7 separate regions of the Homo sapiens genome follow, and all the other regions are linked to region 2. The links are contacts of gene promoters, found by promoter capture Hi-C in human tissues and cell types (Jung and others, 2019). All regions are on one chromosome and are shown on one strand. The core of a region is centred on a gene start or on the middle of the fragment in contact, and the rest is flanking DNA. Distances in the headings are between cores, read along the strand shown.

The links. Contacts are between HindIII fragments. The study calls those that stand out against the background at their distance.
Region 1: a contact is called between the fragment with the promoter of ONECUT3 here and the fragment with the promoter of EFNA2 in region 2, in 2 of the 25 tissues and cell types used here (lymphoblastoid cells and small bowel).
Region 3: a contact is called between a fragment that was not itself captured here and the fragment with the promoter of EFNA2 in region 2, in 1 of the 25 tissues and cell types used here (dorsolateral prefrontal cortex).
Region 4: a contact is called between the fragment with the promoter of WDR18 here and the fragment with the promoter of EFNA2 in region 2, in 2 of the 25 tissues and cell types used here (dorsolateral prefrontal cortex and spleen).
Region 5: a contact is called between a fragment that was not itself captured here and the fragment with the promoter of EFNA2 in region 2, in 2 of the 25 tissues and cell types used here (aorta and spleen).
Region 6: a fragment that was not itself captured here is called in contact with the fragment with the promoter of EFNA2 in region 2 in 1 of the 25 tissues and cell types used here (aorta).
Region 7: a contact is called between the fragment with the promoter of R3HDM4 here and the fragment with the promoter of EFNA2 in region 2, in 3 of the 25 tissues and cell types used here (dorsolateral prefrontal cortex, lymphoblastoid cells and spleen).

Annotation. Positions count from the first base shown.
Region 1 is chr19:1,752,044-1,755,002 of GRCh38, reverse strand. ONECUT3 (one cut homeobox 3) reads right to left here and starts at 1,497. Exons shown (of 2, transcript NM_001080488.2): 1 at 149-1,497. The coding sequence starts at 1,340. The HindIII fragment of the contact is 24,245 bases long and covers 1-2,959 here.
Region 2 is chr19:1,284,479-1,287,724 of GRCh38, reverse strand. It overlaps EFNA2 (ephrin A2), which reads right to left and starts at 1,852. Exons shown (of 4, transcript NM_001405.4): 1 at 1,417-1,852. The coding sequence starts at 1,556. RefSeq lists enhancers at 1,767-2,267, 2,268-2,768. The HindIII fragment of the contact is 32,397 bases long and covers 1-3,246 here.
Region 3 is chr19:1,605,675-1,608,646 of GRCh38, reverse strand. No RefSeq gene overlaps it. Among named protein-coding and RNA genes, the nearest start is that of UQCR11, 1.7 kb to the right of the region's middle. RefSeq lists enhancers at 1-45, 76-125, 1,608-2,229, 2,685-2,972. The HindIII fragment of the contact is 3,073 bases long and covers 1-2,825 here.
Region 4 is chr19:983,047-986,239 of GRCh38, reverse strand. WDR18 (WD repeat domain 18) reads right to left here and starts at 1,895. Exons shown (of 10, transcript NM_024100.4): 1 at 1,677-1,895; 2 at 265-375. The coding sequence starts at 1,886. RefSeq lists enhancers at 1,576-1,755, 1,786-1,935, 1,360-2,301 and a silencer at 1,986-2,075. The HindIII fragment of the contact is 34,067 bases long and covers 1-3,193 here.
Region 5 is chr19:1,778,769-1,782,043 of GRCh38, reverse strand. It overlaps ONECUT3 (one cut homeobox 3), which reads right to left. Exons shown (of 2, transcript NM_001080488.2): 2 at 1,056-3,275. Among named protein-coding and RNA genes, the nearest start is that of ONECUT3, 27 kb to the right of the region's middle. The HindIII fragment of the contact is 3,194 bases long and covers 401-3,275 here.
Region 6 is chr19:1,725,925-1,729,018 of GRCh38, reverse strand. No RefSeq gene overlaps it. Among named protein-coding and RNA genes, the nearest start is that of ONECUT3, 26 kb to the left of the region's middle. RefSeq lists an enhancer at 3,070-3,094. The HindIII fragment of the contact is 4,306 bases long and covers 1-3,094 here.
Region 7 is chr19:911,500-914,957 of GRCh38, reverse strand. R3HDM4 (R3H domain containing 4) reads left to right here and starts at 1,739. Exons shown (of 8, transcript NM_138774.4): 1 at 1,739-1,871. The coding sequence starts at 1,801. RefSeq lists a silencer at 1,582-1,921. The HindIII fragment of the contact is 36,901 bases long and covers 1-3,458 here.

The DNA of each region.
Region 1 (2,959 bases), core at 248-2,747, 470 kb before region 2:
CTAGCTTCCTGATAGGGGGTCCCGGGCTGCCGGGGCGCACGGGCGGGGCTTGGGGCGCTGGCCCCGGGCATCGGCCGCCGCCCCGCTAGGTGCTCGGGAGTCCAGAGCCGGCGCCCCCAGGGTCTGGCCCTGCGCGCCACGCTCCTACCTGCCAAGCGCAGCGCCGACATGCGCTGGAACTCTGGCTCCTGCAGCCACTTCCACATCCTGCGGAAGGTCTCGCGGCCGGATTTGAGCTTGCTCCACGGCTTGGGGTTGCGCAGCAGGTCGGAGAGCGTGCCCTGAGAGCGACACAGGATCCGCTGCGCGAAGATTGCCTGCGGGATGCTGTAGCGCTTCAGCTCCGCCGTGATGCGCTGCGCCACCTCCTTGGTGTTGATCTCCTCGGCCGCTGCGCCCGCGCTGGGGCCGCCGCCGCTCCCGCCGGGGCCGCCGCCTCCCCCGTGCGGCCCGTGCGCCCCGGCCGCCGCCAGCCCGCCCAGCGGCGCCAGCAGCCCCGCGGCGCTCCCGCTGCCCGCTCCGCCGCTGCCTGTGCCGCCGCCGCCTCCGGGCAGCCCGCGGGCCAGTGCGTCCTCCGCGCGTCCCAGCAGCGCGGCGTGCGGCTCGAAGGCGGCGGGCGGCAGCAGCTTGTCCCCAGCCAGGTGGCCTGGCGGGCCGTAGGCGGCCAGCGGCGGGGGTGGTGGCGGCGGCGGGGGCTGCGGGGCGCCGTGCAGCGCGGGCGGCAGCGCGTTGGGCAGCGGCGACAGCGGCGACCCCATGGCGGGCAGCTCCTTGCCGTAGGGTCCGTAGAGGTGGCCCACGGAGGCGAGCGCCGCCCGCTCGTCGCGCATGAGGGTGAAGCTGCCGCTCACGCTGGCCGCCAGACGCTGCGGCGGGGGTGGCGGGGGCGGCGCGGCCGCCGGGTGCGGGTGCGCGTGGGGATGGCCGCCGTGCGCCCCGGCCACGGCCGCGGCCGCCGCGTGCTGGTGGAACTTGTCGGCCACGGCCGCGAGCGGCGGCAGGTGCTGCAGGGGCGTGAGCGTCGTGTAGGTGCCGCCCAGGCCCGGCGCCTCGCAGGCCATGCCCATTGCCGGGTGCAGCGGGCCCGCCAGTTCCCCGCGGAAGTCCGCGCCGCCGCCCGCGCTGCCCGCGCCGCCCGCGCCCCCGGCGCCCCCACCGCCGCCGCCGCCGCCGCCGTCCAGCAGGCTCGCCATGCCGGCCACCAGGCCCGGGCGCCCGGGCGCCACCAGGCCGCGGTGCTGCGCCGCCGCCGAGCGCGCGTGGCCCGGGCTCAGCAGCTCGCCCGCCTGCGCGTGGGCCACGCTGTGCAGGCCCCCCAGGCTCTCCAGGCTCAGCTCCATGCTCGGCTGCCCTCCCGCCGCGCGCGCTCCTCAGCGCCGGCCCCTAGTGCTCAAGGCCGCTGCATGACTCCCGCCCGCTCCCCGGTGGCTGCGCGCGAGGCTGCCAGGCTGCGCGGCGCACGGCCCGGCCCGGCTGCGAGCGCGGCCACCAGGATGTGGCAGGGGAGCGGCCGCCGGCGCCCGGGCCCGGGTCTGACGTCAGCGCCCCCGCCCACCCGCTCCTGCCACCGCTGCCTCCCGCAGCCTCGCTCTCCGCCCGCCCCGGCCCCACTCGAGCACCAAGCAGGCCGAAGTCGGCCAGACTTGGGGCTTCGGCGTCCCTGGCCACTGCGCCCGCCCGCGCCCGCTGGGGCAGGCCGTACCCGGGGGACAGCGGGCGGGGGTCCGAGGACAGACTCTGCCCAGGTGGGGCTGGGGGCCTCGACCCAGAGTCTCCGATTTCGCGTCTCTGTGTGATTCTCTCCAGAGTCCCAGATGTGGCTTTCTGCCTGGCACCCCCAAGTCCATCTCCAGGGAGTTTCTGGGAGTGTGGCTGGACGGTCGCCTGTAATGTACGTGTCCCCCCCCCCCCCCGTTCCCTACAGACCCCCAGGAGCTAGATCCCCACTGCAAGCTCAGCTTCCCCCGACTCCCACTCACACCTACGGAGTCACAGCCCCCTTCCCACAACCTCTTTGTGGAGGAAGTGGGGGAAAAGGGAGGTCCTAAGGCTAGGTCAGGGCCTCCGTGCGCCCCAGGGGTCAGCCTCTGCCCATGTGTGGGCACCTGGGCCTCCGTTTCCCCAACTGTACAATGGGCTGCCCGGCCTCGGGGTTGCCAAAGGCCCCTTCTAATTGCAGGGCCTTTTTACAGTGCGGCCGCTGGAGGCACTGGAGCCTGGGGGTGACCACTAAGAGCCCCTGTCACCCTCCAGCCCACGGAGGCTGAGGCTGGATCCCCTGTCTTCTGAGACGTCGCTGGTGCAAACTCCTCTTTGTCCCTGGGGCTTCTCTTCAATGTGGGGGGAGGCAGGGGTCTCCTTTTTCTCAGCACCTGGAGACAGGTGAGCCCCAGGGGCCCCTGGGAACTGGGATAGATGGGGGAAGGGCTCCTATAATCAGAGAGACCCCCAGGGGACTAGATCCCGCCAGTGGGGTAAGGTCAGGGCTGCGGATCTGGAGGGGCCAGACCAGAATCTAGAGGATGCTCTGTCTTGTAGGCCAGAGGCTACGGTGCAGAGTCCAAAACCAGCCTCAGCCCCTTCCTGCTTCCCCGTTGCCTCTGCCCCCCCCACCCCCGGGGTAACGCTTGTGCACTTTCTAGAAGAGGAAGGGGATGGGTCAGGCAGTCGGTTCGCGGGAGCCCCCAGTTACCCCCATCTCAGAGGGTTGCATCAGGGCTCAAAGCTGAAGGAAGAGGGGAGGACACAGTCAGGCTGTCACTTCCCCTTTGGTGCAAACCTTCTGGGCAAACCCCGGCCCCAGCTTTGCACCTGCATCCAGATTTCCTGGCCCCTGTAGACGTGGCTACACATTGGAGATGCGATTTTCTGAACCAAGACTAGGTTGGCTCTGGAATAGGGCCCTTTCTGTGCCTCAGTTTCCCCTTCTCTGGTGTGGGAGGGGGTGCCCTCCAGCCTG
Region 2 (3,246 bases), core at 603-3,102:
CCAGCACAGCGGGCGGCTCGGGGACCCGCTCTGAGGTGGGCCAGCCGTCCCCCAGCGGCCCGGGGTCCCTGCCCTCAGCCCCCAGGGCCCGACCCGAGGCCGTTGACCAGGGTGGGGGGTGGGCCTGTGCGTGTTCCCCACCCCCACGGCGGAACACGGGCCGCCCTTGTCCCCGAGCCCGCCTCAAAGAGACCCCTTCATGCAACTTTCCTCCCGGGGACCGAGGACAGCAGGAGACAGAGGGGACAAGGAGGGGTGGCGGGCTCCAGAGGGCGGCTCGGTCGGCACAGGAAGCGGCTGGAAAACGGAGAGAAAGTGACCAGTAGCAGAAGAGTGGGGGGGGGCCGCCTCAGCCCCCGATGTGCAGCTCCGTGTGCCTTAGGAAGACGGTGACACCCTGAGTGCTGGGGCTGACTCCCTCCCGAGCCCCAGGACCCCCAAAGCCCCGGCTCCCACGGGACCCCCAGGGAAGCTGCAGCCTGCTCCTGTCTTGGAGACCCTGGGATGGTTCAGAGGGTTCTACCCACGTCCAGGCCATGGCCAGGCCCCGGCAAACTTTTTTTGCTCTGACCAACGGGGGCTTCTCCTGTCCCCCACGTTGTGCCTGGCCCGGACCTGGTTCAAAACAAGGGGGCCTGCAGCAGGCGGGTGCGGCATCTCGGCCGGGCGTGGCAGGCAGGGCACTGGGCCACCTGGGTCCTGCCCCCAAGTCCCCCCCTTGCATGACCTTGAGCCAGCTCCTCATCCCCTCTGCACCTCAGTTTCCTGGTCAGCGCCCAGAGGACAAGAGAGGACTCCATCCCACTGCCCCTCCCGGGGCTGACCCCCAGCTCCCCGGCCCCTCAGTCTCCTTTCAAAGCTGGGCCCTTGGCCCCCTGGAGTGAAGCAGATGCTGGGTCCTGAGGGAGGGACACTCCAACTTCCCCAAGTTCATCTGGGGACCTGCGGGCAGGACGAACCCAGAGATCCCTCGAGGGCCACAGTCCCCCACCTCCGGTGCCAAGGTCCCCGGGGATCCCCACCAAATGCGAAACCGAGGGGGCTCCCCAGAGAAGCGGGTGGATCAGGGGTCCCCCCAAGTCCAGGCAGGCAACTCAGGGGCTACCCGGCATCGGAGGGTACCAGAGGGGTTCCCCAAACTCCAGGAGACGTCGGCGCTCTGGGGGATGTGGGGCGCGAGTCCCCACAGTCCGTAGGGCAATGGGGCGCCCCGGGGAAGGCAGGCGCGAAAAGGGCGAGTCCCCCAAACTCCGGGGGGCCGGAGCTCCCTGGGGGGCTCCCGCGGGAACCGGGCGCCCGCATCCCGGCGGCGGCGCGCGCGTGGGGGGCGCCCGGAGCTCCGGGGGCGCGAGGCCGGGCGCGGCTTGGGGGGCGTTGGGGGGTCCCCGGGCGCCCCCCGCGCGCGGCCGCGCTCACCTGGGGTTGCTGCGGTTCCAGTAGACGGCGTAGCGGTCCGAGTTGGCGCGGGCGGCGTCCTCGGCGCGCGCGAAGGGCGGCGGCGGCAGCGGTAACAGCAGGAGCAGCAGCGGGAGCAGCGGGCGCTGCGCGGGCGCCATGGCCCCGGTCCGGCCGCCGCGCTCGCTCTCCCGGCCGCCGCCTGCCAGCCTTCTCCGCCTCCTCCGCCGCCGCCGCCGCCGCCGAGCGGGCGGGCGGAGGGCGGGCGGGAGGAGGGCGCGGCGGCGCTTGGAGATCCCGGGCCGCCCCCGCCTCCGCGCGCGCGACCTCGGGCGCCGAGAAGTCAGGCGGCGGCGGGGCGGGGCGCCGGGGTCGCCCCGGGCGCAGGACCCGGCCGCGCGGACTGTCGGAGCGCGGGCCGCCGCCGCCGCACCCGCCGGGGAGGGGCCCGGGCTCCGGCCTTTGTCCCGCCCGAGCGTCGGGAGGGCCGCGGGCGCCCCCTCCCGCCGTGCCCCGGCCGCGCGGGGACTGGGCGGGGGTCTCCAGCCTGCGCCCGCCCCCTGCCCCGGCCCACCCCGTCTCAGGCTCGTCCCCCGGGGCCTGCCCCCAGCGACCCCGATTCTGCGCGCCCCCCGCCGGCATCCGCGTGGCCCGGCCTGGGGTCTCCGAGGGGCGGGGGCGCACCCTGCCTCCCGCGCCCCCACGCGCTCCACCCGGCCCGGCCCTGGGTCCCGGGCCTCTCACCTGCCCGGTTCCAGCGCTATCCGCAGCCTCACCAACCCCGACGCACGCGTCCCAAATCGGGCTCGGCCAACTCCAGTCTCCCTGCGGGGGCCGGGGCAGAGTTTCAGAGGGGCGCTGGCCAAAGTCCAAAGCTGCTCGGGCTGCGACCTCCCTGGGGCCCTCCTGGGAGTCGCCTCTCCGGACCCACGCTGTTCCCTGGGGATGGAGTAAGTCCCTACACCTCAGCCCTAAGGGTGCCGGGAGCATAGTAGGTGGACCGATGTGGAGTGTGAGCAGCTGGGGATGGGATCCAAGAAGCCCAGAGTGAAGCCCCGGCCGACAGCAAATCAGTCTCCACGCACGAATCCTGCAGGCAGGGGAGGGCCGCTGCCCGGGGGCACAGCTTGTGCAAAGACCCGGGGTCTGATCTGTTCAGGGAACGCCGAGTGATTTCTCCTCCTGGTAGGCTGACACAGGTGGGGAACTGGGGGCCTGGCCTCTGCTTTGTCTTTTTTCCAATCTATAGAGACAGTGTCTGGCCATGTTGGCCACGCTGGTCTTGAACTCCTGGGCTCAGGCGATCTTCCCACCTGGGCTTCCCAAAGTGCTAGGATTACAGGCGTGAGCCACTGCACCTGGCCTGCCCTCTGTTTTTGCCCTTATTCATGCCACAGCCTCCCTCACCAGACTCTGAGCTTGTGGAGGGTAGGCTGTCATCAAACGCTGGCTGGACTTTGCTGGCGATGCCCAGATCGTGTTGTACGTCTCTGAATTAGTGTCATTCACCAGGCCCAGTGCAGGAGAGGGAACTGCAGGGCAAGCACCAACAGCCCTTGGACCCGAAGGTCCCTGTGTGAGGCATTACCCAAACTCCTGGCAGGGACCGTGAACCCAGAGATGGGCAAGCTAACCTGTGCCCCAGCAAGGTGGGGTGGGGACCGGACCCACCACCGTCCCACAGCTCTGAGACGTGGTGGGCTCTGTCCTGTGTCTCCTGCGTGCCCTCCTCCCCCGATTCCCCAGCGGGCCACGCGGGCCACACCACCTGACCTTTGTTCAGGCTGGGTCCTGCTGGGAAGTCCTTCCACTTTTTCTTCCTGTTAAAATCTTGCTCTTCCAGAAAGGTCT
Region 3 (2,972 bases), core at 40-2,539, 320 kb before region 2:
CCTGCTCCCCTACAGGGTTGGGGTGGAAGGAGTGCCTTCCTGGCCACTTGACGGGGGGTGGCCCCCAGGAGAGAGCCCTTTGGCACACAAGTGCCTTAGGGAGGAGAAGGCTCAGCACAGTGACTCATATCTGTAATCCCAGCACTTCAGGTGGCTGAGGCGGGAGGATCGCCTGAGGCCAGGAGTTCCAGTCCAGCCTGGGCAACATAGTGAGACCCCATGTCTATAATTTTTAAGGGAAAGAGAGTGGCCAGGAGTTGACAGAAGGTGCTGAGGGAGCCCTGTCCACCACTCTACCCAGCTGGCCTCTAAATTCATGCTGGAAAACAACTTTTAAAATATACATTGGCCGGGCGCGGTGGCTAACGCCTGTCATCCCAGCACTTTGGGAGGCTGTGGCGGGTGGATCACTTGAGGTCAGGAGTTCGAGACCGGCCTGGCCAACATGGCGAAATCCCATCTCTACTAAAAATACAAAAATTAGCCGGGCATGGTGGCGCAAGCCTGTAATCCCAGCTATTTGGGAGGCTGAGGCAGGAGAATAGCTTGAACCCAGGAGGCAGGGATTGCAGTGAGCTGAGATTGCACCACTGCACTCTAGCCTGGGCGACAGAGCGAGACTGTCTCAAAAAATCAAAATTAAATTGGTTGTACCTGGTGACACACACTTGTAGTCCCAGCTACTTAGGAGGTTCAGGTGGGAGGATCGCTTGAGGTGGCAGTGAACTGTGATTGCACCACTGCACTCCAGCCTGGGCAACAGAGCCAGAACCTGTCAAAAAAAAAGGGTGGGCCAGGTGCAGTGGCTCATGCCTGTAATCCCAGCACTTTGGGAGGCCAAGGCGGGCGGATCACGAGGTCAGGAGATCGAGACCATCCTGGCTAACGGTGAAACCCCATCTCTACTAAAAATACAAAAAATTAGCCAGGCGTGGTGGCGGGCACCTGTAGTCCCAGCTACTCGGTAGGCTGAGGCAGGAGAATGGCGTGAACCTGGGAGGCGGAGCTTGCAGTGAGCCAAGATCATACCACTACACTCCAGCCTGCAGCCTGGGCGACAGCAAGACTCCGTTTCAAAAAAAAAGGGTGGAGGGGACATCCAGATGGTCCAACAAAATAACAAAAACCGGCTCAAGAAACAAAAAGGAAGTTCTATGTCATGTTGAATGGCTTCAGGCACAGCTGGATCCAGGTGTCATTACAAATCTCTCTCCATCTCTCAGCTCTTGTTTATGTCACTGTCTCTGATGAACTCTTTTTTTTGTCTGTTTGTTTTGAGACGGAGTTTCACTCTTGTTGCCCAGGCTGCAGTGCAATGGCGTGATCTCGGCTCACCGCAACCTCTGCCTCCCGGGTTTTCAAGCAATTTTCCTGCCTCAGCCTCCCGAGTAGCTGGAATTACAGGCATCCGTCACCATGTCCGGTTAATTTTGTATTTTTAGTAGAGATGGGGTTTCTCCATGTTGGTCACGCTGGTCTCGAACTCCCAGTCTCAGGTGATCTGCCCGCCTCAACCTCCCAAAGTGCTGGGATTATAGGCGTGAGCCACCGTGCCCGGCCACTGGTGAACTCTTACATTGTGGCATCTGGAAACTCTGGGCTGACATTCCAGCAGCCCTTGTGTTCCTGTCCTTTCTCTTAATAGTCTCTGTGTCAGCCCCTGCATCCCACTTTTTTAAGTTTCCACCAATGGGAAGAGTCTTATTCAGGTGCTCTCTGATCCCAAGCTCAAAAACCCCAAGCCAACTGGAAAGTTCTACAAACAATGCCCAGGGCCGGGCCCGGTGGCTTACACCTGTAATCCCAGCATTTTGGGAGGCGGATCACTTGAGGTCAGGAATTCAAGACAAGCCTGGCCAACATGGCCAAACCCCATCTCTACTAAAAATACAAAAACTAGCCAGGTGTGGTGGCTCACGCCTGTAGTCCCAGCTACTTGGGAGGCTGAGGCAGGAGAAGCTTGAACCCGGGAAGCGGAGGTTGCAGTGAGCCGAGATCGTGTCATTGCACTCCAGCCTGGGCCACAGAGCGAGACTCCGTCTCAAAAAAAAAAAGAAAGAAAAACAGTGCCCAGACTGTGGTGTCCAAAACCTATTTCCGGCTCCCACCCTGAGTCCTTAACCAGGGATAGGGATGGGTTAGCACCCGCAGTCCCCAGAGAGCTGCAGGCTTGGGGTGTACTGAGGGGCTGACCCCAGGAGGACAGGCCAGGCTGGGCAGAAGAACCCACGGTGTCCATTCCTTATCACGAGGCCTGCAAGTGACGCTGGCGCCCGAGAGACAAATCACGCCCAGTGCCCCGTCTAGGCTATGGCCTTTCCGTTCATGCTGTAAAGGTGCCTGTGGGTCAGGCAGTCCAGGAGGGCTTCCTGAGGGAGGCAACTCTTGAATATGGGGGAAAAGGCACAAAAGTGCAATGGCGGTGTCTGGGAATATGCCCCTCTTCCTTCTGCCCACACCGGCCCGGTGTGCAGGGGGGAGGCTGGAAGCTGGGAGCTGAGTGAGCATGTACGGTGCTGCGCCGGGTTGTGGGAGAGCAGAGGAAGCAGGGACTGGAGAAAGGCGAGCCCAAGCGAGCCTGGTGCGGTGGAAAGCAGGAGGCAGAAAGACCTGCCTGTCATCAGCTAAGAGCATCCAGAGACGTTCACCGAGCAAGGAGCCAGGCCACCCTCTGCTGCCGGAATGAGGAATAACCCAGGCTCGCAAACGGAATCCTGCAAAGAGATTTCCGACAGGGCCTCCAAGCAACGGGCAACGCTGAGGCTCAGGGAAGCACTGCCGCTCGACCAAAGTCCTACAGCGAATCAGGAACAACGCCTGACGCCTCCAAAAGTGGGCTCCAATCCCAGCTCTTCCCCTCTGTGTGACTCTGAGCAAGACCCTTCCCCGCTGGACCTCAGTTTCCTTCATTGTAAATAACGTTCTGGCACATACTAGGCGCACAAAATCACTGGCAGGTAGCCCCGCGGAGC
Region 4 (3,193 bases), core at 646-3,145, 300 kb after region 2:
GATGCTGCGGTGTGTGAGTGCCGGGGACTGGGCTGCACCGGGCTCTATCCAAGCACTCAAGGCAGGATTAGGGCTGGTCTGGGATTCGCAAGTCTCGAGGGGACCTGGAGAAAGGAGGCAGCAGGGTGAAGCTTAGGCTATAACCCCTGAGCAGTCACCCATCCCAGGGCCCCAGGCCGCATGGTTGTTCCCTGGTGCCCTGCAGGCAAAGCTCAGATGGGCTGAGATGTCCTGTGGGAAACGCTCACGCTTTGCTCCTCTTACCTCCCACAGGTGGATGCTTTCTGCAACTCCTGCCAGGACGTAGAGACCATTGGGTGATGCAGTCAGACAGGTGACAGGCCCGGGGCACATGATCTTCTGCTGGAGCTGGTCCTAAGGATGCACAGTCAGCCTCGTGAGCCCCATGCAGGACACGGGAGCTACTACAGCAGTGGAGGGCGAGGGGAGGGGACGCCTGGGCAATGGCTAAGTCAGAGAACCAGGAAGAGGAGTCGGGAGCAGGGTGGTTTGAGCAAATGCATGGTCCAGCAAGGAAGTGTTCGCCCCTGCAAGAGGCTTCGAGGCTGGAGGTGGTAGATGTGAGGTTGGTGCTTCCTCTGAGGGTCAGAGGGGCCCTGGGTGGGAGGAGTACAGGAACAGAACAAAGAGGATCCAGAAGGACACTGGGGCCCAAGAGCCCAGTAGGCTTGTGCCCCAATCCTTCTATCCATAATGTCCAACCTAAGACCCCAAGCCTCAGCTTCCTCCTCTCTAAAATGGGAAAACTCAGCCGGGCGTGGTGGCTCACGGCTGTAATCCCAGCACTTTGGGAGGCTGAGGTGGGCAGATCACTTGAGGTCAGGAGTTCGAGACCAGCCTGGCCAACATGGTGAAACCCTGCCTCTACAAAAAATACAAATGTGGGCCGGGTGTGGTGGTTGGTGCGGGCCTGTAGTTGCAGCTACTCAGGAGGCTGAGGCCCGAGAATCGCTTGAACCCTAGAGGCAGAGGCTGCAGTGAGCCGAGATCGCACCACTGCACTCCAGCCTCAGCGACAGAGTGAGACCCTGTCTCAAAACTAAAATAAAATGGGAGAAATTTATGAGTTGTGTGTAGACTCCATCAGGCAATGCTGGAGCACAGAGCCAGTCCCAAGAGATCTCAGCGGGCACACGGGGGAAGCGAGTAGCTTCAGGGACTGGCTGCATTTGGGCTTGGGAGTAGAGGGGAAACTGTGGGCGACGGTGAGTATCTGTTGCTTTATTGGAGGAATAAACATGAGTTTCCTGCGCCACCCCTTCATGGGAGACTCCCCCAGACCTTGGTCCTTCTCCCTTTTCCTCCAGAACCACAACATCCACAGAGCTCATAGGCCCCTTTTAATCAAATTTCGCGCTCCAAGAACTCGTGCATGCGCAATTGCCCCAAGGGACCCCCCGGAGCGTCTCCCATTTTCCCCCACTGCCCCCATAGCAGCTCAGGCCTGAGCCCCGCGCGTGCGCAGAGCGGCCTAACAGGTCGCACGTATCTCCCCAAAGCCCCCAGACCCGCGCATGCGCAGAGCGCCCGAACGGAGACCACCTCCCCTCCCCACGCCAATTCCGACTAAGGGTGCACGCGGCCCCCACCAACCCATCCCCCGACTTCAGCCTCGGGCGCCCCATGACCCCAGCAGCGAGACCGCACCGCCGCACCTTCCGCTGGAGCTCCCAGGCGCTGATGTAATTCTTGCCCAGCTGCGCCGCCAGCAGATACTCGCCATTGAGCAGCGCCAGGCCGCGGGGTCCCGCCTGGCCGCCGCGGTAGGTGAGCAGGTTGGCGCCCGAGTGAAGTTCCCACACGATGCAGCTCCACATCGGGGCCGCCGAGTCCGTACACACGGCCACCTCCATGGGCGCCGCCATCTTGCCTTCCCCACCGCCCCGGACGTGCGTCATCATGAGCGAGACGCGGACGACTGCCCCACGCGGGCCAGAGCGGCGGCCCCGCGGCCCCAGCGGGTGGCCGACCCGCGCATGCGCCCGTGCCTCGGAGAGAGGGGCTTTCTTGTGAAGTGGGATTTCCCGCTTACCTGAGACTCGAGGGTCGCGCGGCCTGCTTAGAGATCTGGGGAGGCGACTTCTTCCAAGGCCCAGGGTCTCCGGCGATCAGTTAGTAGCTCTAGAGCCGGGGTACCTGACTTGGCCTTTTCCTCCTGGGCATTTTTGGCCAAGTGACTCAAGCTCTTGGATTCATTTATTTTTAAATGTTCAAATAATAAAGTTCCGACGTCACAGGCCTAAATGACACATTGCGCCTAAAAGAGAGAGCGCACACCCAGCAACATGGCTAGTTGGCGATGAATACATTGGAATTCACTGCTTCCTTATTTATTTAGTTTTGTAGAGCCAGGGTCTCACTGTCCTGCCCAGGCTGGCCTCGAACTCCTGAGCTCAAGTGATCCTCCCAGCTCGGCCTGCCAAAGTGCTGGGATTACAGGCGTGAGCCACCGCGCCCGGCCCAGTGTTTCCTTATTGGTCGACATCTGCCTCCCCCTTGACCCCTCTTTAGGGGCCTCAACATCTAAATTATTAGTCGGATAGCTTGGTGTAGGTCAAACAAGTCGCCAGTTCTGTCCGAGCCAAGCAGGGTCTAACTTCATGTCACGGCTGCCCGTCACGGACCATGTCTGAAAACGGCATTCAAAAAAAAAAAAAGGCCGGGCGCTTTGGCTCAGGCCTGTAATCCCAGCACTTTGGGAGGCCGAGGTGGGTGGATTACCTGAGATCAGGAGTTCGAGACTACCCTGGCCAACATGGCGAAACCCCGTCTTTACAAAAAGTACAAAAAGCCGGGCGTGGTGGGAGGCTGAGGCAGGAGAATCGCTTGAACCCGGGAGGCGGAGGTCTCAGTGAGCCGAGATCCCAGGCACTCCAGCCTGGGCGAATGAGACTCTGTCTCAAAGAAAAACATATATCTATTATTTATTTATACTAAATATATATCTAGTAGAGATGGGGGGTCTCACTGTGTTGCTCAGGCTGGTCTCCAACACCTGGGCTTAGGCCTTGGCCTCTTAAACCGCTGGGATTACAGGCTTCAGCCACAACGTCCGGCCTAAAAACAGTATGATTTAAAATGTGCAATTAGTTGCCAACCCCTTAAAAAGGGATAAAAAGGGAGCATTCATTTAAAAGTCGGGATTTCCGCCCGGGGGTTGCAGCTGACCTGG
Region 5 (3,275 bases), core at 748-3,247, 490 kb before region 2:
GTGATGGAATATTCCTTCCCGGTTTTTAAAATCAAAACACTGACCTCTAGTGGTCCAGCCGGGTATTTGCAGGGAAAACTTTCCTTCTTCATGCTGGGGTAAGATAATGTGGGTAAAGCTTCATTGCTCTCAAAAGTTGCTTATTAAAAGCTGTGGCTCCCCCGCTGCCTGACAGCTGGCCCCTCCCAAGAAAGTTTATAAATTCCAGTTCTTGTACCATCTAGCTTCTTCCTCTATCGGGAAGCCCTGGTTTCTCCCATTCAAATACACCTTCATTCACTGGGGCCTCCGTTCACTTTAGACTCCAGAAAGCAATGAGCAGTGATGTCACAGAAGCAGGTCCTGACAAGGTGTGCATCTTGGGGCTTGGTTGACTCAAAGGCGCCAAGCTTTTCCTTCTAAGGCGCCAAGCTTTTCTTTCTGATTCTTTTTTTTTTTTTTTTTTTGAGACGGAGTCTCACTCTGTCGCCCAGGCTGGAGTGCAGTGGCGCGATCTCGGCTCACTGCAAGCTCCACCTTCCGGGTTCACAGCATTCTCCTGCCTCAGCCTCCTGAGTAGCTGGGAATACAGGCGCCCACCACCATGCCTGGCTAATTTTTTGTATTTTTTAGTAGAGACGGGGTTTCACCGTGTTAGCCAGGATGGTCTTGATCTCCTGACCTCGTGATCCGCCTGCCTTGGCCTCCCAAAGTGCTGGGATTACAGGTGTGAGCCACCGCGCCTGGCCTCTTTCTGATTCTTACCATTCCCTGTGGGTGGTGGACTTGTGTGGGTGGTGGAGTTGTGTGGATTGTGGAGGCTCAGAGCTGGCCACTGGCCCAGGAAGAAGACGGGACTCAGAGCAGAGAGGGGCGAGCTGGGTGGAAGCAAAGTCCGTCTTCCCTGCACTCCGGTCCTCCCTCCCCAGCCTCGAGGTGGGCGAGTTCCATTCCCGCCCCCTATCTGTGCCCGACCCGTCAGCTAACACACACGCCCAGGTGAGTGACTAGAAAATAATTTATTGAAGAAAAACAAATCAACAAACCCAGCACAGCAATGGTTAACAATGACGAGATTTTTTTTTTTTTTTAGCTTTTAAGCCTGTCGCCCAAGGGTGAAGGTGGAAAAGGGCTTCTCTCCCCTGTCCCTGGAGGGGAGGGGACTTTGGAGGGTCCAAGTGGTGTCTCCCCTGAAAGCAGCCCTCAGTTCCAGTCTATTCAAAACACTCAAGGCCGCAGGGCCTCCTGGCTCTTCCGTCACCCCCGGCTGAGCTCATTCCACCAAAACCAGCCCCTGCGTGGTCTGACAGGGCCACGAGGAGGAGCCCCAGGAGTCTACTGGCCTGATTTTGCTTAAACCGCTTGGGGCAGAGAATGTGAAATGGCCCAAGCTCCTGCTGGTGCAAGGAGCATCCTGGCCCCGGCATCATTTCAGATTTGAGGTCAGCTGAGCCCTCAGCCCCAGGCCCAGCCCTCCAGACCAGGGCTTGCTGCTTTATGGGGTGAGAAGCACCCCGTTTAGCTACCCCGCCCCCCCCTACTGGGGCCTGTCCCAAAAGCGGCCCCTCTCATCTCTCCCCTGCCGCCCTCTCCTCCAGCCTCTGTTCCCAAGCTGGCACATCTGTGCCCCTTTCCACCTCCAGGGACTATCTGGGGATGGCTCAGGGACGTGGCCTCATGGCACAAGAGGAGTCAGAGGCAGAGGACATTGTCCCAGAGCCCCCTTTGATGATTTTGGGGAGTCCTCTGTTCTGTAGGCTCCGAAAGTGGGCTGGGAGGGAGGGGTCTCTGCAGGCGTACACCCCCTGCCTCCCGGGCTGGACAGAAAGGCGGACTCATGCCCAGCCCAGGGAGGGAGGCCGAGGCTGTCTGGGTGGAGGTGGGGGGGGAGGGGGTGCTGGTGCCTGCTGTTGGGGCCCTCAGGAGGGTCCTTCAGATCTCAGGAAGTTGGGGCACACTCCCGTCCCCCACCACCCTGGGCAACAAGACAAGAATAGGCTGATTGTCTGTCTCCTCTGAACAAGACACTTGGGAATTCATGCTAGAGTGAAAGCAACCGGGTGATGGGGGGTTGGGGGGGTCTAAGATATCGATGACACCAGAGTGCCCCCAAGAACCAGGAACTGAGGGGGGGACGCTCGGTGGCTCCCGCCTGGCTGGGGCAGGCAGGTGGCATCTCGGGTGGAGATGGACAGGCAGGTGGAGGAGACCCGGCTACTGAGGCTCTGTTCCCGCCCCCTCTACCTGGGGCCCCGTCCACCTGTCCCGGCTGGACACAGTTCCTTAGAAAGGAGGAAAGAAACAGTAACGAAAAACCACTGAACAGCACCGATCAGGCACCAGACACACAGATGCGACACGGAACCGGGCCACGCCCCCCGCCCCCCACCCTGACCACTTTATTACAATTAGCGTCAAGAAAGAGTACATTAGTCATGCACCAACTCAAATTCCATTTTGTCTTTTTTTTTTGCATTTTTCTTCCTTTTTTTTTCTTAAATTACATTTGAACACAGAACACAGAGAATAATAAATACTCTTATAAGACATGACTCCAGAAAACAAGAAACAGAACAAGCCAGAGAACAGAAAGGTATACCTCTGCCTCTCTCTCTCCCTCTCCCTCTCTCTCCCTCTCTCTCTCTCTTGCGCTCGCTCTCTCTCTCTCTTCCTTTCTTTCCTAAAGGACTCATTTAAATAAGAAATCTGTAAACGCCACTGGTCCTTTCTGCCGCAGTCTCTCTCGCGATCACGCTCCCTCTAACTTTCCCTCTGGTCTCCAGCCCTGACATTCAATGCGTCTCCCACGGAACTCGTCAAAGAAACGACATGCCATCGTCTGCAAAATTATAATTTAACGGTATAAAGCTTCAAGTCACGTATTCCAAAAACTAGCTAAGGATTTTTTTTTAATCACATAAACTATACATTAAATATTTTGAGGTATTTCAGAGAAAATTGTCAAAGGCTCGAAGGAATTGTGCTGGAGGTGTTGATCCCTGCATGGAGAACGCATGCTCTTTGGTATGTGACAGCCAAGTGGGCATGCGGGGAGGCAGGAGAGGGCCTGAGGGGCCGGCGGGCAGGTCGGGGATAGAGCCTTCTGTGGGGGTCTGGCCAAGTTTGGGGTGGGGTCCGGAAACAGGTAGGGGTGTGTGTGTGTGTGTGTGTGTGTGTGTGTGTGTGTGTGTGTGTGTGATACGAAGATATCTGAAAAGGATCCAGGAGTCCTGGGCCACTTTATTTATTTTTTTTTGTAGAAGTGGGGTCTTGCTGTGTTGCCCAGGCTGGTCTCA
Region 6 (3,094 bases), core at 237-2,736, 440 kb before region 2:
CACGAAGCCACACATGTACATGCAGGAACACAACATGCACACACGGGAACACACAGGAGCACACACGAACCCACACATGCACATTCACACAACACACTTGTCCACACACCCTGCAGCTCACTTACACACACACACACACGAAACCACACGGAGCCACGCACGCTCGCGCACACTCTCGTAGGGCTGTCGTTGAACCATTCCTACGTTGAAAACCTAACCAGCCATTTCCAAACAGCACAACCTTTGTGAAAATCCAGCTTTTTCATCTTGCACACGAATCGGCCAACCTCCGCCTCCCTCTCCCTCCCCACTCAATAACCAGGTTAAAATAAAAATTGAATTCCAGGATCTGCTTTCAAAAATCACCCCACACAATCCGCCGGTCAATGCAACCTTCCTCAGCTGTTAGGAATTAGAAACGCAGCGGCAGAGGAAGGAGATGGAGATGTCAGGTGGAACGTTATGGGAAAAATATGAAATAAATGCAGATATCAGGGACTGTGTGAAGACCGAGGCTTACGTGCAGGACACAGAAGCTGGGAGGCCTGAGCAAAGTGGCCAGGGCTGAGTTTAGGGGGTGGAGAAGGCTACGGCCAGCGATTTTCTCCTTTTGTATTTCCTTTAAGGTGGTTACGGAGTTGCACAGAAGGTTTTCTTTTCTAAAACCACAGCGATTTGGGGTACATGTGGGATTAATGGAGACCTTTAAACAAATCTCTGAGCCCTGGACTTGGCATGGCACGTATATCAAAAGCATCATGCGTGCTAAATATTAAAACATTTACGGCCAGGCGCGGTGGCTCATGCCTGTAATCCCAGCACTTTGGGAGGCCAAAGTGAGCGGATCATGAGGTCAGGAGTTCGAGACCATACTGACTAACATGGCAAAACCCTGTCTCTACTAAAAATACAGAAATTAGCCAGGTGTGGTGGCATGTGCCCGTAATCCCAGCTACTTAGGAGGTTGAGGCAGGAGAATCGCTTGTACACGGGAGGTGGAGGTTGCAGTGAGCAGAGATCACACCACTGCACACTAGTCTGGACAACAGAACGAGACTCCGTCTCAAAAAAAAAAAAATGCACAGATCTGTCAAATAAGCCAATCTTGTTTTTCACCCTTAAAGAAAGAAGAAATCTTCTTGGCTCCACACAGGGAACCCTAGCATTTTATAAGCAGCGTCTTTATTCTGACAATAACTCTTCTTTTGACAAAGTCCAGGTGTTCATTTGAATGAGCCCAAGTGGTTGTTGGGGGATTTGCGATTTTTTTTTTTTTTTTTTTTACTAAATTGGAATGTTTAGGGCACTACCCATATCCCCTTCAAAATAACCATAAGCTTTTCTCAAGTCTGTGACCTTGACTTGGGGCTTCCCCTCACAGGGCCTCTGTGTAATGGGAGTTTCGTTTGGACATGAAGATCTCACACTGTTCCTAAGCCTTTTAATTTCAACATTGCATTTATTATTTTTAAATTATTATTATTTTTTAGGCTGGGCGCAGTGGCTCACGCCTGTAATCCCAGCACTTTGGGAGGCTGAGGTTGGAGGATCACTTGAGGCCAGGAGTTTGAGACCAGCCTGGCCAATATGGCCAAACTCCGTCTCTACTAAAAATACAAAAATTAGTGGGACATGGTGGTGCGTGCCTGTAGTCCCAGCTACTTGGGAGGCTGAGGCAGGATAATTGCTTGAACCCAGGAGGTGGAGGTTGCAGTGAGCCAAGATCGCACCACTGCACTCCAGCCTGGGCGACAAAGCTAAACTCCATCTCAAAAAAATATATATATTATTTTTTAGAGATGGGGTCTCGCTCTGTTGTCCAGGCTAGTCTGGAACTGCTAGGCTCAAGCGATACTCCTGTCTCGGTCTCCCAAAGTGCTGGGATTACAGGCGTGAGCCACACCACACCTGGCCTATTATTATTATTTTTAATTAATTTTTGTAGGCAGAGTCTTGCTCTGTCGCTCAGGCAGGAGTGCAGTGGTGCGATCTCAGCTCACTGCAACCTCCGTCTGCTGGGTTCAAGCGATTCTCCTGCCTCAGCCTCCCGAGTAGCTGGGACTACAGGCATTCACCACCATGCCCGGCTAATTTTTGTACTTTTAGTAGAGACGGGGTTTCTCCAAGTCGGCCAGGCTGGTCTGGAACTCCTGACCTCAAGGAATCCACTGCCTTGACCTCCCAAAGTGCTGGGATTACAGGCGTGAGCCACCGCGCCTGGCCCCTTCCTATTACTATTTTGAAATTTCATCTTTTTAATTTTAGATTCAGGAGTACATATGCGGGTTTGTTCCATGGGTATATGGTGTGATGCTGAGGTTTGGGATATGACCGATCCCGTCGTCATCCAGGTGCTAAGCATGGTACCCAGGAGTTTCTCAGCCCCTGTCCCCCACCTTCCCCGATTTAGAAGTCCTCAGGGTCTATTATTCCCATCCTCGTGTCCATGAGTACCCAATGTTTAGCCTCCACTGATAAGCGAGAACATGGGTACTTGGTTTTCTGTTTCTGCTTTCATTCGCTTAGGATAATGGCCTCCAGCTGCACGTATGTTGCTGTAAAGGACACGATTTCGTCCTTTTTCGTGGCTGTTCAACATCGCATTTCAATTTAAGGAACGGTCCCTCCTTATGGGGTGGTGGGTTCCAGGCTGCGACGGTGTGGGACCCAGCAACGCGGGAAGATGTTTTAGCTTTGCTTGGAGGGTGCAGATGTCAGCACGGCGTGGCAGAGAGAGTCTGAAGCCCTCGAGCCACACTCTCTGGGCTCCAGGCCCCTTGCACCTCATAAACCCTTTGCGCCTTGGGTAATCCCCGGGCCCTCGTGAGCCTCAATTTTCCTGTCTAGGGAATGGAGAGCAGCCCGCCCAGGGAGATGGCCGGGGCGGCGGTCAGGGGGTCCGTGCATGTCCGGGAGGAAGGTCCTGGCCGCCCCTGCCCCCACCCAGCCGTACCCTCGCCCCCCGCCGCTGGAACCGTGCGTCCCCAAGATAAGAGACGGGTCAATAAAGTTTTCTTCCAAGATGGTCCAGCTCTCTCCATCCTCTCGGGCCCCCTCCCCGCGCCGGGAAAGGTCAGATGCGAGGCGGCATCGA
Region 7 (3,458 bases), core at 490-2,989, 370 kb after region 2:
TTCTCATCCTTTTCTTTTTCCTCCTTACTCTTTCTTTCTTTTTCTTTCTTTCTTGCTTTTTTTTTTTGAGACAGCATCTCGCTCTGTCGCCCAGGCTGGAGTGCAATGGCACAATCTCGGCTCACTGCAAGCTCTGCCTCCTGGGTTCACTCCATTCTCCTGCCTCAGCCTCCTGAGTAGCAGGAACTACAGGCGCCTGCCACCATGCCCGGCTAATTTTTTGTATTTTTGGTAGAGATGGGGTTTCACCGTGTTAGCCAGGATGGTCACAATCTCCTGACCTCATGATCCACCCGCCTCGGCCTCCCAGAGTGCTGGGATTACAGGCGTGAGCCACTGTGCCTGGCTATTTTTTTTTTTTTTTTTTTTTTTTTTGAGACAGAGTAGTCTTACTCTGTGGCCCAGGCTGGAGTGAAGTGGACGGCTCCCTGCAACTTTTGCCTCCCATGTTCAAGCGATTCTTGTGCCTCAGCCTCCCATGTAGCTGGGACTATGGGTGCATACCACCACGCCCGGCTAATTTTTGTAGTTTTAGTAGAGATAGGGTTTTGCCATGTTGGCCAGGCTGGTCTCAAACTCCTGACCTCAAGTGATCCACTGGCCTTGGCCTCTCAAAGTGCTGGTATTACAGGTGCGAGCCACCGTGCCCAGCCTCCCTCTTGCTTTATTTTATTTTATTTTATTTTTTTGAGATGGAGTCTCGCTCCTCGCCCAGACTGGAGTGCAGTGGCACGATCTCGGCTCACTGCAAGCTCCGCCTCCCGGGTTCACGCCATTCTCCTGCCTCAGCCTCCCGAGTAGCTGGGACTACAGGCCCCCGCCACCACGCCCGGCTAATTTTTTGTATTTTTAGTAGAGAGGGGGTTTCACTGTGTTAGCCAGGATGGTCTCGATCTCCTGTCCTCGTGATCCGCCCACCTCGGCCTCCCAAAGTGCTGGGATTACAGGTGTGAGCCACCGCGCCCGGCCCTTTCTTTTTATTTTAGAGATGGGTTTTCATCATGTTGCCCAAGCTAGTCTCAGACACCTGGACTCAAGTGATCCACTGGCCTTGGCTTCCCAAAGTGCTGGGATTACAGGCGTGAGCCACCACGTTGGCCACCAGGCCTAATTTTAGAGAAGAGTAAACTGAGGCTAAGCAGGGGAAGGGGTTGCCTAGCCGAGGCTCCAGGGCTGGGAGGGGCAGGTGGAAGGAAGGCTCGGGCAGTTTTAATTTCCGCCATCCTCTGCCTCCAAGAAGAACGTCCCCTCCCTCGTCGATGCTCAGGCCTTAGTTTCCCTGTCCGTGTCTCCTCGCCTCCCTGGGCTGGATTCCTGGCTCAGTCCGCAGCCCGGATCGGGACGCAGGGTTGTGGTTGAGTTTTCGACCCCTCGCCTAGGTGTCCCTCCTTCCCGGAGCTAGATTTCTGGGTGTAGGGATCGTGGCCGGCCCCGCCTCCCGCCTCAGTCTCCCCGTTCGTCCCCCCAGGGGCTGGATCCCGGCCCCGCCTGCCTCGGTTTCCCCGTTCGTTCCCTGATGGCTGGATCCCGGCCCCGCCTGCCTCGGTTTCCCCGTTCGTTCCCTGTTGGCTGGATCCCCGCCCCGCGCGCCTCGGTTTCCCCGTTCGTCCCCCCAGGGGCTGGATCCCCTCCCCGCGCGCCTGGGTTTCCGCGTTCGTTCCCGGCAGCCGGGAGGTGGGCGCCCCCGCCCCGCCGCGCAGCCCCAGGCCCCGCCCCTGCCCGCCTCCGGGCGCCCGTCACTTCCTGCCCGGCCCGGTGAAGGCCCTGCCGGGCGGCGGCGGCGGCGACAGCGTGCGAGCCATGGTCGCGCTGGAGAACCCCGAGTGCGGCCCGGAGGCGGCGGAGGGCACCCCGGGCGGGCGGCGGCTGCTGTGAGCGCGGGCGGGCGGGGCGCGGCGGGCGCCGGGGGCGGGCTGGGCTCCCTCCCCTGAGATCCTCTCCCCGCCTCCCCTCCCCTCCTTTCCCTTCCCTCCCCTCGTTCCCTTCGTTCCCCTCGCTCCCGTTGCTCATCTTCCGGGGCTTCAGCCTGTCCTGCCTTCCCTTCTCGCCCGCTGTGGACCCCCAGGCTGGGTGGGGGGTCTTCATTGTTACTCAGCGGGGACACCCTCCTGGCGCTCCGGGGGCTCGCTGGGGGAGGGGACCCGGATCCACGTCCCCATTTACCTGTTCCGCCCCCTACTCCCCGGTCCGCCCCCTAATCCCCGGTCCGCGCCCCACTCCCCGGTCCGCCCCCCCACTGCACTGGTCCGCGCCTCCATTCCCGGGTCCACCCCCTCACTCTCCGGGTCCGCCCCCCAACTCCTCGGTCCGTGCCCCCACTCTCCGGTCCGCGCCCCCACTTCCCGGGTCCGACTCCCCCCACTCCCGGGTCCGCGCCCCCCCACTGCCCTGATCCACGCCCCCACTCCTGGGTCCGTCCCCCCACTCCCTGCTCCACCCCCCCACTCCCCTGGTTCTTGCCCCCATTCCTGGGTCCGCCCCGCAACTCCTCGGGTCAGCCCCCCAACTCCTCGGTTCCACCCCCCAACTCCCTGGTCCGTGCCCCTACTCTCTGGTCTTCGCCCCCACTCCCGGGTCCGCGCCCCCACTCCCGGGCCCGCCCCCCAACTCCTCTGTCCGACCCCCCCACTGCCCTGGCCCACGCCCCGACTCCCGGGTCTGTCCCCCCACTCCCCAGTCCGCCCCCCAACTCCCTGGTCCACCCCCCCCACCTCCCCGGGGCCGCGCCCCCACTCCCGGGTCTGTCCCCCCACTCCCCGGTCAGTCCCCCAACTCCCTGGTCCGCCCCCCACACTCCCGGGTCCGTCCCCCCACCTCCCCAGTCCGCCCCCCAACTCCCTGGTCCACCCCCCCCCCCACCTCCCCGGGGCCGCGCCCCCACTCCCGGGTCTGCCCCCCCACTCCCCGGGCCCCGAGGTGCCAGCCATGGAGCCTCCCGCCAGAGGGTCCTGGGCCCCTGTCCGCGGGTCGGGGTTCACCCACGTGGCCATGCGCTCCAGCCTGGTCCCTGCCGCACGCCCGGCCCCACTCGCCCTCTGGGCTTGTCCGCGCCCCCTGCCTTTCCGGGCAGACCCGGCTCCTTGCTCTCCTTTGGGTAAATCCCTACAACCCTTGTGGGTTAAAACCTGGCAAGCAGGAGCCCGCGCGTCCTTCCCGGGGGACCCGGAAGCGGGGCGGTCTGTGCGGGGGTCAGCCGTGTGTCACCCCGGCCCGCACAGGGACCCGGGGACCCAGGGTGCGCCCCTGGGGTCCGTGTTGGTGGAGGGCGAGGAGGCGGCGCGTGTTCCGTTCCTGCCTCCTCCGTGTGCGGACGGCGCCACCTGGGCAGGTTATTTCATGCTTCCATGCCTCAGTTTCCCCTTCTGTAAAATGGGATAGTAAGTGTGGCCTCTTCTCCGAGTGGTGGGGGTTACCGAGCTGGCACTGCGGCGGGCCCAGCAAACAGGAGTGTCCGTTGT